4 separate regions of the Homo sapiens genome follow, and regions 1, 2 and 4 are each linked to region 3. The links are contacts of gene promoters, found by promoter capture Hi-C in human tissues and cell types (Jung and others, 2019). All regions are on one chromosome and are shown on one strand. The core of a region is centred on a gene start or on the middle of the fragment in contact, and the rest is flanking DNA. Distances in the headings are between cores, read along the strand shown. Region 1 overlaps HEYL (hes related family bHLH transcription factor with YRPW motif like). Region 2 holds the start of ZMPSTE24 (zinc metallopeptidase STE24). Region 3 holds the start of MFSD2A (MFSD2 lysolipid transporter A, lysophospholipid). Region 4 has its middle 22 kb from the start of PABPC4-AS1.

Region 1 (3,176 bases), core at 518-3,017, 320 kb after region 3:
CTTGGGTTCAAATCCCGGCTCTGTCACTAGCTATCAGGGTGATTCCAGGCAAGCCTGTTAACCTCTCTGAGCCTGATTTGCTCCTTTGTGTAACTGGAATAATGAGAGGGCCCACCTCAAAGGGCTGCTTTACAGATTAAGTGCATTAATGTAATGCTCTAAACAATAGCAGACACACAATAGGCCATTATGATTGTTGTTCCTATCTTCTGTCTCCTCTCTGAGTCCAGAACTTTCATCCCCCTCAGTGTGCCGGGGTGGGGGAGGGGACAGAAGAAGGATCCCCACTTGCCGCTGTCATCTGTCCATCATGTTCAGCCCCACTTTCCTCCCAGGATGCAGCTGTGTTTCTGCACTGGGAGTCCAGACACCTGGGGTCTGGCAGAGAGCAGCCTGACACTCACTGACTGTAAGCCCTTAGGCAAACCACTTCCTTCCAGCCCTCATTTTCCTTATCTGTAAAATGGGGTCATATCTGTCCTGCTCCCGGTGTTCTGCTACCAGTATTGGAGGGAAGAATGAGAGTGTGTGGGTGGAAGGGCCCTGCAGCTAGAGAGAGCAACACGTGGGACTCCCCAAACCATCTCATGACCTCACAGATGACGGGGTCACCCTCCTGGCCCAGCACGGGCCTCCAGGGCCTGCTCCAGCACCGTGGCTGGTGTCCTCATTGTGATTGGCTGTGCCCTGCTGTACCAGTGGTTAAACATCTTGAATATCACCCCTATAGACCGAGACAAGAGATCTGAGTTGTACTCCCAGCTCTGCGCTTTCTTGCTGTGTGACCTTAAGCAAATCACTGTCCTTCTCTGGGCCTTGGTTTTCTCCACCATAAAGTAAGACTAGATTGATCTCCCTCACAAAAATACTGTGTGGGTAAATATGAGTTGATGACCATCAAGGCACTTTGGAAACTGTGATGACACACCTGTGAGTAACTTCTTGTCATGATTGTTTAGATCATAGAGAAACGGCGTCGAGACCGCATCAACAGTAGCCTTTCTGAATTGCGACGCTTGGTCCCCACTGCCTTTGAGAAACAGGTATGTGACATTGCTGATTGTGCTAGAGGAAATACTGTGTGGGTGGCAGATAAGGTTCGTTTCTCATGGCATCTCTTGTTGATTGGTAGCAGCTGCCTGAGATGCTGTGATCATTTACCAATATCTGTCACTGGCCAGGGTAAAAGGAATGGAAATTTATACTTAGGTGTCTCAGGTGTCTTTATGTCTATCATCCCATTGAATTGACTCCTCAAAATGATCCCAAAGGTTAGGGATTATTATGCCCATGGCACAGGTAAAGAAACTGAAGCACAGAGAGGTGAAGTAACTTACACCAGATCACGCAGCTAGTAAATAGCAGGGCACAGGACTGTGTGATTCTCAAGCCCTCATCCCTCTGCACTACAGACATTTCTAGAGTGACTTGAAAGTGGAAAAGGCTGCTCAGGGAGTGAGCACTCTACCATTGAGCATGTTAGGTGGGGGAACTACAGCGGGGAATCAGACAGTGGACTCAGCCTCAGAAATTCTCACCCTATGCACCAAGGCATAGGTCACGGGTCCTCTGCCTTCCTTTATGCTGGTGAGAACAAGTCAGTCATCCCACAGATGTTCACTAAAACCATCACAGGACCAGCCATGAACTAGACCTAGTATCTGCCCTCAAGGGACTCCCATGGAGCCTCTGATCTTCAGGCTTCACCTGGAAAGCTTAGGAAGCATTTCCCAAGAGAGAAAAGAGGAAGAACAAGTGGTCTGGGGATAAGATGATGAGCTAGATCTTGGGCACATTGAGTCTGAAGTTGGATTCCCTGAAGAGCTGGTTTAAGAGGCATTCTGAGGATGGTGGCTAAAGCCATGGAGGTGACAAGCCTCTCTGCAGGGAGCAGCAGAATGCGAAGTGACACAGAAGGGACAGTACTGTGTTAAGAGACGGCAGATCAAGAGGCATGGTGAAAGGAGAGCCCAGAAACAGTGGTGTCGTGCAAGTCAAGGGAGGAGTGGTTTCAGGAAAGATGATCGGCAGCTGTACAGTGGACAGATGGTCTGAGAGGAGAACTGAAAAGAATGTTCTAGATTTGGAGAACTTGGCCAAAGCAGAAGCCCATTTGCAGGCAGCAGTGGAGTGGGAGGAAGGTGAGAAAATCGAGACAGTGAGTGCTGATGACACCGCACAGCTACATGGTCAGCTGCAGGCTCCACCCTTCTGTCTTCTGTACCCGCAGGGCTCTTCCAAGCTGGAGAAAGCCGAGGTCTTGCAGATGACGGTGGATCACTTGAAAATGCTCCATGCCACTGGTGGGACAGGTACCCATGCTCTTCTCTTTCAGGCGTCATTCATACAACAAATATTTTGAGGCTGGGCCCTGGGGATATGCTGGTGAGCAAAGTCCACACGCTGCCCACTCTGAGGAGCTCAGTCAATGGAGGGAACATTTGCAAAGCTTCTCTCTCTCCTTTCAGCATCTCCCTCTCCACTTTCAGTGTCTCCATTTGTCGCAACCTTTTCCTCAGTTCAGCTCCCTCCAGTCTTAGACCTGGGAGGCGCTTTCTTCTGTAACAGACTGTTCCTATGGGTCCCACTCTTGTCCAACCCAGGACCTCATTAAGAATTCACCTGAATGAGCTAATTCTCACTGGGATCCCAATCTGACCCCCCTTAACCCAGGGAGGAGCCTGGTATCCTACCCACTGGTCTAGCCTTCTGGGCTACTGTGGGGTCCTTGGCAGAACTGGGGTGACATATCATGCTCACCACAGGTCTCAGGATTGTAGCAGGACACAAATTAACTCATTTTGTTATTTTAAGCCCATCAGTTACAATAAAGTAAGGGAACAGTGGCTTTAAAGACACTTCCAGACAAATAGAAATTCTGTCTACTCAAAGTTTCTCTGTGTATTTGGTGATTTCAAAATTGGGAAACCTTGAAAGCTCCACAGGCCTTGGCCACAAAGACCTAAGTTCCAGAGACCTAACTTACTGCTACAGAAGAGGACAGTAGCATTTTAAGTGGCCCATTCTGGTGCTTCTGAAGCCTCAGTGTATACCATTGTCACCTTGGGGCAGGCAGAATCAGGAGTCATCCCCCAGAGATTCTGAGGCAGTAGGTCTAGATTGAAGTTTAGGAGTTTGCAAGTTTAACAAGCCACCCAATTATCCTGGTGCAGGTG
Region 2 (3,150 bases), core at 308-2,807, 300 kb before region 3:
AAAAAAATCAAACAATTAGCCAGGCACAGTGATCCGCACCTGTGGTCCTAGCAACTCAGAAGGCTGAGGTGGAGGTGGAGGGGTCGTTTGAGCCCACGAGTTCGAGGCTGCCTTGAGCTATGATGATGCTACTGTGCTCCAGTCTGGGTGGCAGAGTGAGCCCCTGTCTCTAAATACAATAAATATTCTATCCTGGCCAAGATGGTGAAACCCCGTCTCTACTAAAAATACTAAAATTAGCTGGGCGTGGTGGCACGTGCCTGTAATCCTAGCTACTCGGGATGCTGAGGCAGGAGAATCATTTGAACATCCCTCCCTCTGCGCGCTGCTGGCAGTGTCACAGACACACTCTTCCCCTTGCAGACTCTCCCTCGTCCCTCCTAGTTTCTTGCAGTGAGCCGAGATAACGCCACTGTACTCCAGCCTGGTGACAGAGCTAGACTCTAAAATTAAATAAATAAATAAAGATTAAAAATAAATAAATAAAAGTTCAGATCTCTAAACCATGGTTATCTCAGGTAAATTGTTAACTTTCACTTTTTATTTTACCATTTTAATATTTAAACTAAAATAATGTTGATTTTATGAAAAACGAGAAATATATTTCATTTAATTTCATTTATTTATTTATTTTGAGATTGAGTTTCACTCTTGTCGCCCAGGCTGGAGTGCAGTGGCACAATCTCAGCTCACTGCAACCTCCGCCTACTGGGTTCAAATGATTCTCCTGCCTCAGCCTCCCAAGTAGCTGGGACTACAGGTGCGCGCCACCACACCCGGCTAATTTTTCTATTTTTAGTAGAGACGGGTTTTCGCCACGTTGGTCAGGCTGGTCTCGAACTCCTGACCCCAGGTGATCCGCCCGCCTCGGCCTCCCAAAGTGCTGGGATTACAGGCATGAGACACCACGCCGGGCCCGATAAGTTTTTTGTTTGTTTGTTTGTTTTTTCAAGCAGAAACAATATATGCACTTTAAGGAGAAACAAGAGTGCAAGTTCTTGGAAGGACTGCAAAATCCTATGGTTAGGCATGATTACATAAATGTCATGAGGAAGTTGGGTGTCTAAATCCTTTTAAAGGCTTATTCCAAAGATAAAGGAGGCCAAGTCTGGGCCCAAGGATCCCAAGGAAGCTGCAGGGAGGGCACAAGAGCCCAAGCCTTCCTCCAGGCCCTAAAGGGATTGGGTCCCATGATAACGTTACAGAAAACTTCCTTGACGCACCAAGACCCTCCTCAAAGCCACAGTCCGCCATCGGGCCAAGTTACGAGACTCAGCAGGGACCACAAAGACGAGACTGGCGCGGGGACCGAAGCAATCAAGAGTCTCAGGGTCGAAGCCAAGGCTACTCCAGGGCTGGCCGGGTATGGGGGTCAGGTTGGACCCTGTCTAGGCTCACCTGCCGCTGTGCTAGGAAGGTCTCCCAAAGATACACTGTCCAGGAAAAGAGCAGCACGGCCCCGAAGATACGCTTCTCGGCCGGCATCTCCCACAAAGCGTCCAGCGATGCCCACATCCCCATGGCCACCCGGTTCCGCCGGCTCCTTCAGCGTGCACCGGTGCCACACCGACACTCGTCCCTTCAGAGCGTCCCCGCGGTGTCACAGCAATATCCGTTCTTTCCGAGGGCCCCTACGCCGATACCCGCCCCCATCCCTCCCTCTGCGCGCTGCTGGCAGTGTCACAGACACACTCTTCCCCTTGCAGACTCTCCCTAGTCCCTCCTAGTTTCTACAGGAAAAGCCCCAGCCCCACCTTCCTCACTTCCGGCCCAAAGAGGGCGGGGACCCAAACGCCGAGTTCCGGGCCCGGCTGAGCTGTGTTGCATCAACATTCTTCCCCCACGTCTTGACGCTGGGTTCCGGCCTAGGGTTCTGGCTTTCCTCCTGGGCTAGTGAACGCGGCGAAGTCCTCCTCTTTCTAATCTCCAGAGCCGCAGTTCCATCCTCTGGGTCAGCGGCTTACCCTGACTGGGCTGCGGTATCTGCCTTCCTTCCCCCAACAAGGCGACAGGTAGTCGGGGCTGGGGCCGGAACTGACTGAGTGGGCCGCAACTGACTGAGTGGGCCGCGGCTCCCGCCTGAGGAGGCTAGGAAGGACTGAACAGCAGCCGACTTCCCAGGCTCTAAAAATCGTGCCTCTGAGTTAGAGCTACCTCAAAAGCAAGACCAAGCATGAGAAATGGAGTCTTTTGGCCAGTATTGGGGTGTTCGGAATTCAAGCGTATGAGAGAGTGGACGGTAGCGTTGAGAATTTTCATTTGAAGATCTCGTCTTAACCACCCCAAGTGTAGTCAGAGGCGGCGTTTTCCCTGCGAGAGTGCCCTGGAACAAAGCAAGGATAGCGTGGGTTAGACATACCTGAAATGAAAGCGTCTTACTTTATCTAGGTACATATTTGCGTCAGTAAGGCGCAACGCCATTTCTCTCTTGGAATTCAGAAGTGAAATATGGTGACTGGGACGCCTGTACATTGCTTTGACTTAAAAATTGAAGTCCATTATTCTGACCGAAAGTTAATCTGATGATTAATTGGTTAAACATACTATCGTTGCTAATTAGCATAATTATTATTTACAATAAAGTGAGCTAAATAGCTACAACTAAAATATATTTAAATTACTGTGATATTGTGATGCTAAAGATGTGTTGAAATTAATATCTTGAATTTCTCAACCCTGCCTAAATGCCTCTGAGAGTAATTAGTATAATTAAAAGTCACTAGAGAAAGTGAATGACTCTAATAACAGGATAACAAATTCTTTTCAAGTCAGATGGTTTCCAGTTCTTTGCTTTCAACAAAATTAATGGTGGCCCATGAATTGTCAGCTGATGAAGGAACACTATTTGGTTTTTGGCATGCAACTCGGAAAGAAACCAAACGATTGATTGACATGCTTACAACAAAACTACTAGCATTCTCACCTATTTATGTAAAACCATTTCTCAGCACTTGTATCTGTGAAAACAACAGAATTGAAAATGAACCCTGTTAATCTACCAGTAGGAACTATTCATCCAGATAAATGAATTAATTGGTGGGTCAGCCCCATCTATCTCACTAAGAGATGTGTTCCCAATAGAATTTCACCTTTTATAACTGTGTGTTATCAATATTTGCAATCGTGTCATTTTGATCCATTATATACTAA
Region 3 (3,145 bases), core at 425-2,924:
TCAGCCTCCCAAGTAGCTGGGACTACAGGCACCCACTACCACACCCAGCTAATTTTTTGTATTTTAAGTAGAGACGGGGTTTCACCATGTTAGCCAGCATGGTCTCGATCTCCGAGATCCCACTTTATACAAAAGAAAGGTGTTCTCCATTCTTAGGAACATGGAAAAGGGGAATCCATACTTGTGTGAAAGTAGCCCCTAAGCCACCTCCCTCCTGGAGATTCTAAGGAAACTTATCAGCCCACCATCCCTAAAGAACTCCTCCCAAGGCCTCAGGCACTGCTCCTTTCCAGGTTTCAGGGGGAGCATGCTCCAGCAGCCGACCTGTCCCCACCCGGCACCAGCTGCCACAACCTGAAAATCCGCTTGCTGCCAAGAGCTGCCTGAGCCCAGCCCAGGCTCCCACCCTGCCTCAGAGACAGGATCCACCTGCCTACTCCTGGTGAGAGCTCTAGAGAGCTACGGGGGCCCGGCCCAGCTGGCTGCAGGCGCAGCTGTTCCACCTATCCCAGAGCATCCCTGACCACTATAGGCAGCCAGAGCTTCAGGCGGACCCAGGAACTGTCCTACTCTCCAGCTTCCCGACCCATCGCCCTCCACCCCTGAGCTCCTAGAGGACCTTGGAGACGGGAGGAAAGGCCTCCAGGTTCAGGCCTGATCCCTCTCCGGGTGGGGCACTAGGGAGGTTGGGTTGCCCAGGGAAAGTAGATATTACTCATACATAGTAACAGCATAATTGCTCACCCAGCTCCTTCCAAAGATCAGTTAATAAAATTAAAAGGAAAAGGCAGTCACCTCCCACGAAGGTATCTATTGCCTGAGATCCTTTCCTAGGGGGCCGCCTCATTTTATTTGGTCCTTCAATAAGTCCCCAGGGCTGGGGATGTGGTCGATGGTCTCGATGCGCAAAGCACCGTTCCCGCGCGAACATCCACATTCAGACAAATGCCTGAGGGACGCGGCTCCTTTAAGAGCAGAGCTCTTGTTCTTATGAATGAACTTGAGCGGCCCTAACAGCAGAGTTGAGGCGCAAGAGTAGGTGGGTGGAGTGGGAGGTAGGGGATGAGAGATGGGGAACCAAGGGGAGTTTCCCAGATTTCTGGGGTCATCTCTGGGGTTTGGGGCGGCAAGCCCCAGCCGCTCAACACGGAAGAATGGAAACCGGCTAGGCAGAGCGGGGAATCACATGGGGCTGCCGGCAGAGCCTCTCCGCAGAGCGTGGAGTGCGGGTGAGCAAAGGGGGGCGAGGGCGCCCACAGCTTTTCTCCGTCACCCCCTGTCCCAGGGCACCCCCAGGTCCTCTCTGGCTCGTAGGCTTCCTGTCCCTGGCTATCCCAATGGTCCCCTGACCAGGCCGACCCCGGGACGCCCCTGATCCCCCATTTCCGCCTCCTCCCTCCCCTCGCCCTCCACGCGGGGTGCCGGGCCCTCACCTTCACCTGGGCCGGGCGTTCAGTGCTTTGGAGGATGCTGGTGGGTAGCAGCCCCGCCGCGGAGCCGCTCTCGGCGCCTTCTCCTTTGGCCATGACCCGCGGGCCACGCCGCTTGGGACCTGGTAGACGGGATGCTCCTCTGCCCCGCAGGCCGCTGCTCCTCCCAAGCTCGCTTCGTAGCAGCCTTAGCCACGGCCGCCGCGCGCTAGCCAAGCCGGCTGGCAGACGAGGAACGCACTCTGCTGCACGCCCCCTCCGCGCCTCTTATAGTTCTGCCCAGCCCTCTCGGTTGCGGCCAATCCCCGAGCCCCGCTGCCCCGCCTCCAGCCAATCCCGTCGCCCGCCTCCCTGCCCCCGCCTCGCCCGGCGGCTCTGTGCCACCGAGCCACGTTCTCCAAGCCCCGGAACCGGCATCTGCCTGCGCTGGCTCCTAGCAATCCGAGAAGCAGGCCGCGAGACCTCCCAGACACGCGCGAGGAAACCGAGGCCCCAGGCTGAAAGTGATCTGCCCGGGGTCCCCGATCTGCCCGAGGTCCCCGAGGTCCCCAAGGTCCGACTCTCCCCGAGTCGGGCCTACCACCCATGACTTCTGAGCCCCAGGCCTAGGAAAGGTAGGGGCTCTGAAGCCCACTTTAAAATCTGGAGTCAGGGCCTCTCTCCTTCTTCAAGCCTAGAGGACGTACGCTGACACTTTCCCTCCTGATGCCTCTCTCTCATCCCCGAAGACACACCATTCCCCCGTCCTGCCCTTGGCATCCGGGCAATGGGGAGAAAGATGAGGCAATCCAGTGGCTGCCCCTGCCAGAAGGGAGCTCCCAAGTCGTGGAGAGAAGCCGGGGCTACGCCCGCTAGTACACTATGACAACAGTGGCCTTTTTATGGATAGCTTCCTCCATGCTTAATATGATCTCTTTCGGCCCTCAAAAACCACCAAGTGAGGGTGGTACTATTATTATCCCCATTTTACAGCACAGGAAGGGGAAACTTGGAGAAGTGAAGCAACTGTTATGTAGCAGAGCCAGGCCTGAAAGGTTTTGTCCGATACCAAAGCAGTTGCTCTCAACAGCCCTGCTCTATCCCTCTTAGCATAAATTACAGACGGCAGAATGGGGTGTATGTGTCTCCCAACAAGAAGCCCTGGGAGATACATGGCTCCAGAGGCACTGAGGGTTGAAACAGGGAAAGTTTTGAAAAAGAGAATGCCCAGAAATGTGGTCCTCAAAAGAAGATGGGAGGGCATTAGTTTGGAACAGAAGGCAGGCACGGATGCCAGAAAAGAACAGTCTTTAGTTCCACCTCTGAGTCCCTTATGTCAATGTCACCCCGGTCTTTCCAGTTCTCTGATTAGTGAAGGGGCTGCTGGAACTCTCAAAGGCTACCCACCCGGTTCCTGTGCTCCTTAATGTCAGCCTCCTTCTTCCTTTCTTTAAATCTCTGATTGCAGGGAGGAGAGATAAGGTCTATCTGCCCCAGGATGGTCACACCATGCTCCCTCATACGCCAGCAGATCCCATCTGGGCACACAGCTCTTGGCCATTGCTGAGCAGAAGAGAGCCAAAGTGAGGCACTGAATACTGTGGAAAGGGAATGGCTGGCCCCATTACTCCAAGCTGTGTGACACTGTTCTGTCTCTTTTCCCCTCTCCAGGCTTGGTTAGCTAAGCTCCCTTGCAGCCCCCAAATCTTCTCTCCCACAGTCACACCATACCACAA
Region 4 (3,060 bases), core at 94-2,593, 410 kb after region 3:
TGCAGGGGCGCAATCTTGGCTCACTGCAAGCTCCGCCTCCCAGGTTTACGCCATTCTCCTGCCTCAGCCTCCCAATTAGCTGAGACTACAGGTGCCCACCACCACGCCCAGCTAATTTTTTTGTATTTTTAATAGAGACGGGGTTTCACCATGTTAGCCAGGATGGTCTCGATCTCCTGACCTTGTGATCTGCCCGTCTCGGCCTCCCAAAGTGCTGGGATTACAGGCATGAGCCACCGCACCCAGCCCTTTTGTATTTTTTTTTGTAGAGATGGTGGGTTTTGCCATGTTGTCCAGTCTGGTCTTGAACTGGACTCAAGTGATCCTCTTACCTCGGCCTCCCAAAATGCTGGGATTACAGACATGAGCGGCCGCACCCAGCCAGAAAAGTACTATTTTTAAGGGTATCAATCAGAAACTAAAACTTTCTCTCCTTACTATTCAGCCCATCTCCCAGAGGTAGCTACAATTGACAGTTGTGTTTTCCTTTTTTTCTTAAGTATTCATGATGACCTTTTTTTACCCATAATCTTTTTTGTCTTAATCTAGCTTTTAAAAATGTTTCTTAAAGTCATAATTGCACATAGTTTAAAGAAAATCGTTCTATAATAAAACATTCTTCTGCTCCCCCAACATAATTTTTCTGCCCTGCCAGAGGCAACATTCATTTCTTTTAACTATTTTAATTATTTGGGCTTTTATTGCTATGTCTCTGAAAAATATACTCATATTACTATTAGTAATCCCAGACTGGAGTACAATGGCATGATCTTGGCTCACTGCAACCTCCGCCTCCCGGGTTCAAGTGATTCTCCTGCTTCAGCCTCCCGAGTAGCTGGGATTACAGGCGCCCACCACCATGCCCAGCTGGTTTTTATATTTTTAGTAGAGACAGGGCTTCACCATGTTGGCCAGGCTGGTCTTGAACTCCTGACCTCAGGTGATCCACCCACCTCTGCCTCCCAAAGCGCTGAGATTACAGGTGTGAGCCACGGCGCCTGGCCTCCCTCCTCTGCTATCCATTTTAGATACCTCTCATCCTCACCTCAGCTGGTTCCTCTGCTAATCTAAATGGCTTATCAGGTGGGGTGACCTAGACCTTTGTCTGTGGGGATTTGAGCTCCTGGTCATTATATACCTTCTCAGGTCATCGCTGCCTAGCATAATTGGGTGGGGGAGTCCAAATGTTTATTCAGTTGTCCTAAGACCAGTTTATAGAAAGTCCATCTTTGACCCAGTGATTTAAGATGCCAAGCTTTATGAAATATTTAATTCCTTTATATATATATATATATATACACACGCACACACACACACACACACATATATATGCATATATACACACACATATACATACATACACATATATATACATTTTTGTATATGTGTGTGTGTGTGTGTGTGTATATATATATATATTTTTTTTTTTTTTGAGACGGAATTTCACTCTTGTTGCCCAGGCTGGAGTAAAATGGCATGATCTCAGCTTACTGCAACCTTTGCCTCCCGGGTTCAAGTGATTCTCCTGCTTCAGCCTCCCGAGTAGCTGGGATTACAGGCACATGCCACCATGCCGAGCTAATTTTCTGTATTTTTATTAGAGATAGGGTTTTACCACATTGGTCAGGCTGGTCTTGAACTCCTGACCTCAGGTGATCCACCCACCTCGGCCTCCCAAAGTGCTGGGATTACAGACCCGAGCCACCGCACCTGGCCTATGTATATATTTTAATAGAGATGAGGTCTTGCCGTGTTGCCCAGGCTGGTCTCCAACTCCTCTGCTCAGGCAATCCTCCTGCCTTGGCCTCCCCAAGTACTGAGATTACAGATGTGAGCCACCATGCCTAGCTGAAATACTGAATTTTCATACGTTTCTGGGTCTATTCGGGACTTTCTCTTCTTTTCACCTAGTCTGTTCTATCTATTTGTGTGCCACTTCCACACTTAAGCATTTAGTTTAAATAAAGGTACTATGTACTTTTTTAGATTTGGAGAGCTGGAGTTTGGGGGTGTGTGTGTATTTTATTTCAGAGACAGGGTCTCACTTTGTCACCTAGGAGTGTGCCACCATGCCTAGCTAGTTTCTGTATTTTTAGTAGAGATGGGGTTTTGCCATGTTGGCCAGGCTGGTCTCGAACTCCTGACCTCAGGTGATCCACCCACCTTGGCCTCCCAAAGTGCTGGGATTACAGGCATGAGCCACCGTGGCTGGGACCCAAATGATTATTTTTATTTTTGTAGAGATGGCATGTTACAGAGAGCTGGAGTTTTAATTATCTAGTTAGATATTCTTACCTCAGCACTTTTCTCTTTCTCAATCCCAGAGAATTTTCTCTACATGTGCACCCATTTAAAGGACTCGGCTTCAAGGGAAGCAGCTTCCACCGCATTATCCCCCAGTTCATTTGCCAGGGCAGTGATTTCACAAACCACGGTGGCACCAGGGGTAAGTCCATCTACAAGAAGAAATTTGATGATGAAAACTTTATCTTCAAACACACAGGACCAGGTAGGAACCACTCATCGTGTGGTGACAAGGGAGGCTGGGCGAGGGCAGCTGGCCGTGCAGGGTGGAAGGATGAGCCGTGGTTCTGGCTGAGAAACAGGGAATCTGGAGGAGACCCAGCTACCAGACACAGGAGAACCGTTCAGCCTTGCTAGGGTGGAGTTAGCTTTGGGCTTTGAAAAGCTTTTCTGTTTTTTATTTTGGGTTATTTCAGTTCCCATTTGTCTCCTTTCATTAAAAGAGGAAGAAGCATAGACGCCTGGGTCTGCTCCTACAGGGGTGTCTTGTTATTGTTTTTGTAACTTTTTATTTTATGTAATGTCAAGCTCACGGAAGAGTTACAAGAATAGTGCGATGAACCCCATACACCTTTGCTGGCATTTACTCAAGTTCACCAGTTGTTTATATTGGTGAACATCATTTCCTATTTATTCTCCTTCTGTGTATTTTTATAGACAGTGCGTATTTTTTTAGAGCCATTTGAAAGTAAGTTGGAGAGTTCATGTTCCTCTACCACTAAATACTTCAGCATGTATTTCATAAGAAACAGGGTA

The links. The method cuts DNA at HindIII sites, captures the fragments that hold promoters and counts their contacts. A contact is called where the count stands out against the background at its distance.
Region 1: a fragment that was not itself captured here is called in contact with the fragment with the promoter of MFSD2A in region 3 in 1 of the 25 tissues and cell types used here (IMR-90 fibroblasts).
Region 2: a contact is called between the fragment with the promoter of ZMPSTE24 here and the fragment with the promoter of MFSD2A in region 3, in 1 of the 25 tissues and cell types used here (stomach).
Region 4: a contact is called between a fragment that was not itself captured here and the fragment with the promoter of MFSD2A in region 3, in 1 of the 25 tissues and cell types used here (hippocampus).

Annotation. Positions count from the first base shown.
Region 1 is chr1:39,629,363-39,632,538 of GRCh38, reverse strand. It overlaps HEYL (hes related family bHLH transcription factor with YRPW motif like), which reads left to right. Exons shown (of 5, transcript NM_014571.4): 3 at 960-1,043; 4 at 2,231-2,312. Among named protein-coding and RNA genes, the nearest start is that of HEYL, 8.7 kb to the left of the region's middle. The HindIII fragment of the contact is 5,291 bases long and covers 1-3,176 here.
Region 2 is chr1:40,256,643-40,259,792 of GRCh38, reverse strand. ZMPSTE24 (zinc metallopeptidase STE24) reads right to left here and starts at 1,557. Exons shown (of 10, transcript NM_005857.5): 1 at 1,399-1,557. The coding sequence starts at 1,521. RefSeq lists enhancers at 1,147-1,246, 1,337-1,616, 1,697-1,966, 2,197-2,326. The HindIII fragment of the contact is 19,109 bases long and covers 1-3,150 here.
Region 3 is chr1:39,953,674-39,956,818 of GRCh38, reverse strand. MFSD2A (MFSD2 lysolipid transporter A, lysophospholipid) reads right to left here and starts at 1,674. Exons shown (of 14, transcript NM_032793.5): 1 at 1,434-1,674. The coding sequence starts at 1,526. RefSeq lists a silencer at 1,723-1,852. The HindIII fragment of the contact is 9,041 bases long and covers 1-3,145 here.
Region 4 is chr1:39,541,106-39,544,165 of GRCh38, reverse strand. It overlaps the pseudogene PPIEL. Among named protein-coding and RNA genes, the nearest start is that of PABPC4-AS1, 22 kb to the left of the region's middle. The HindIII fragment of the contact is 4,869 bases long and covers 1-3,060 here.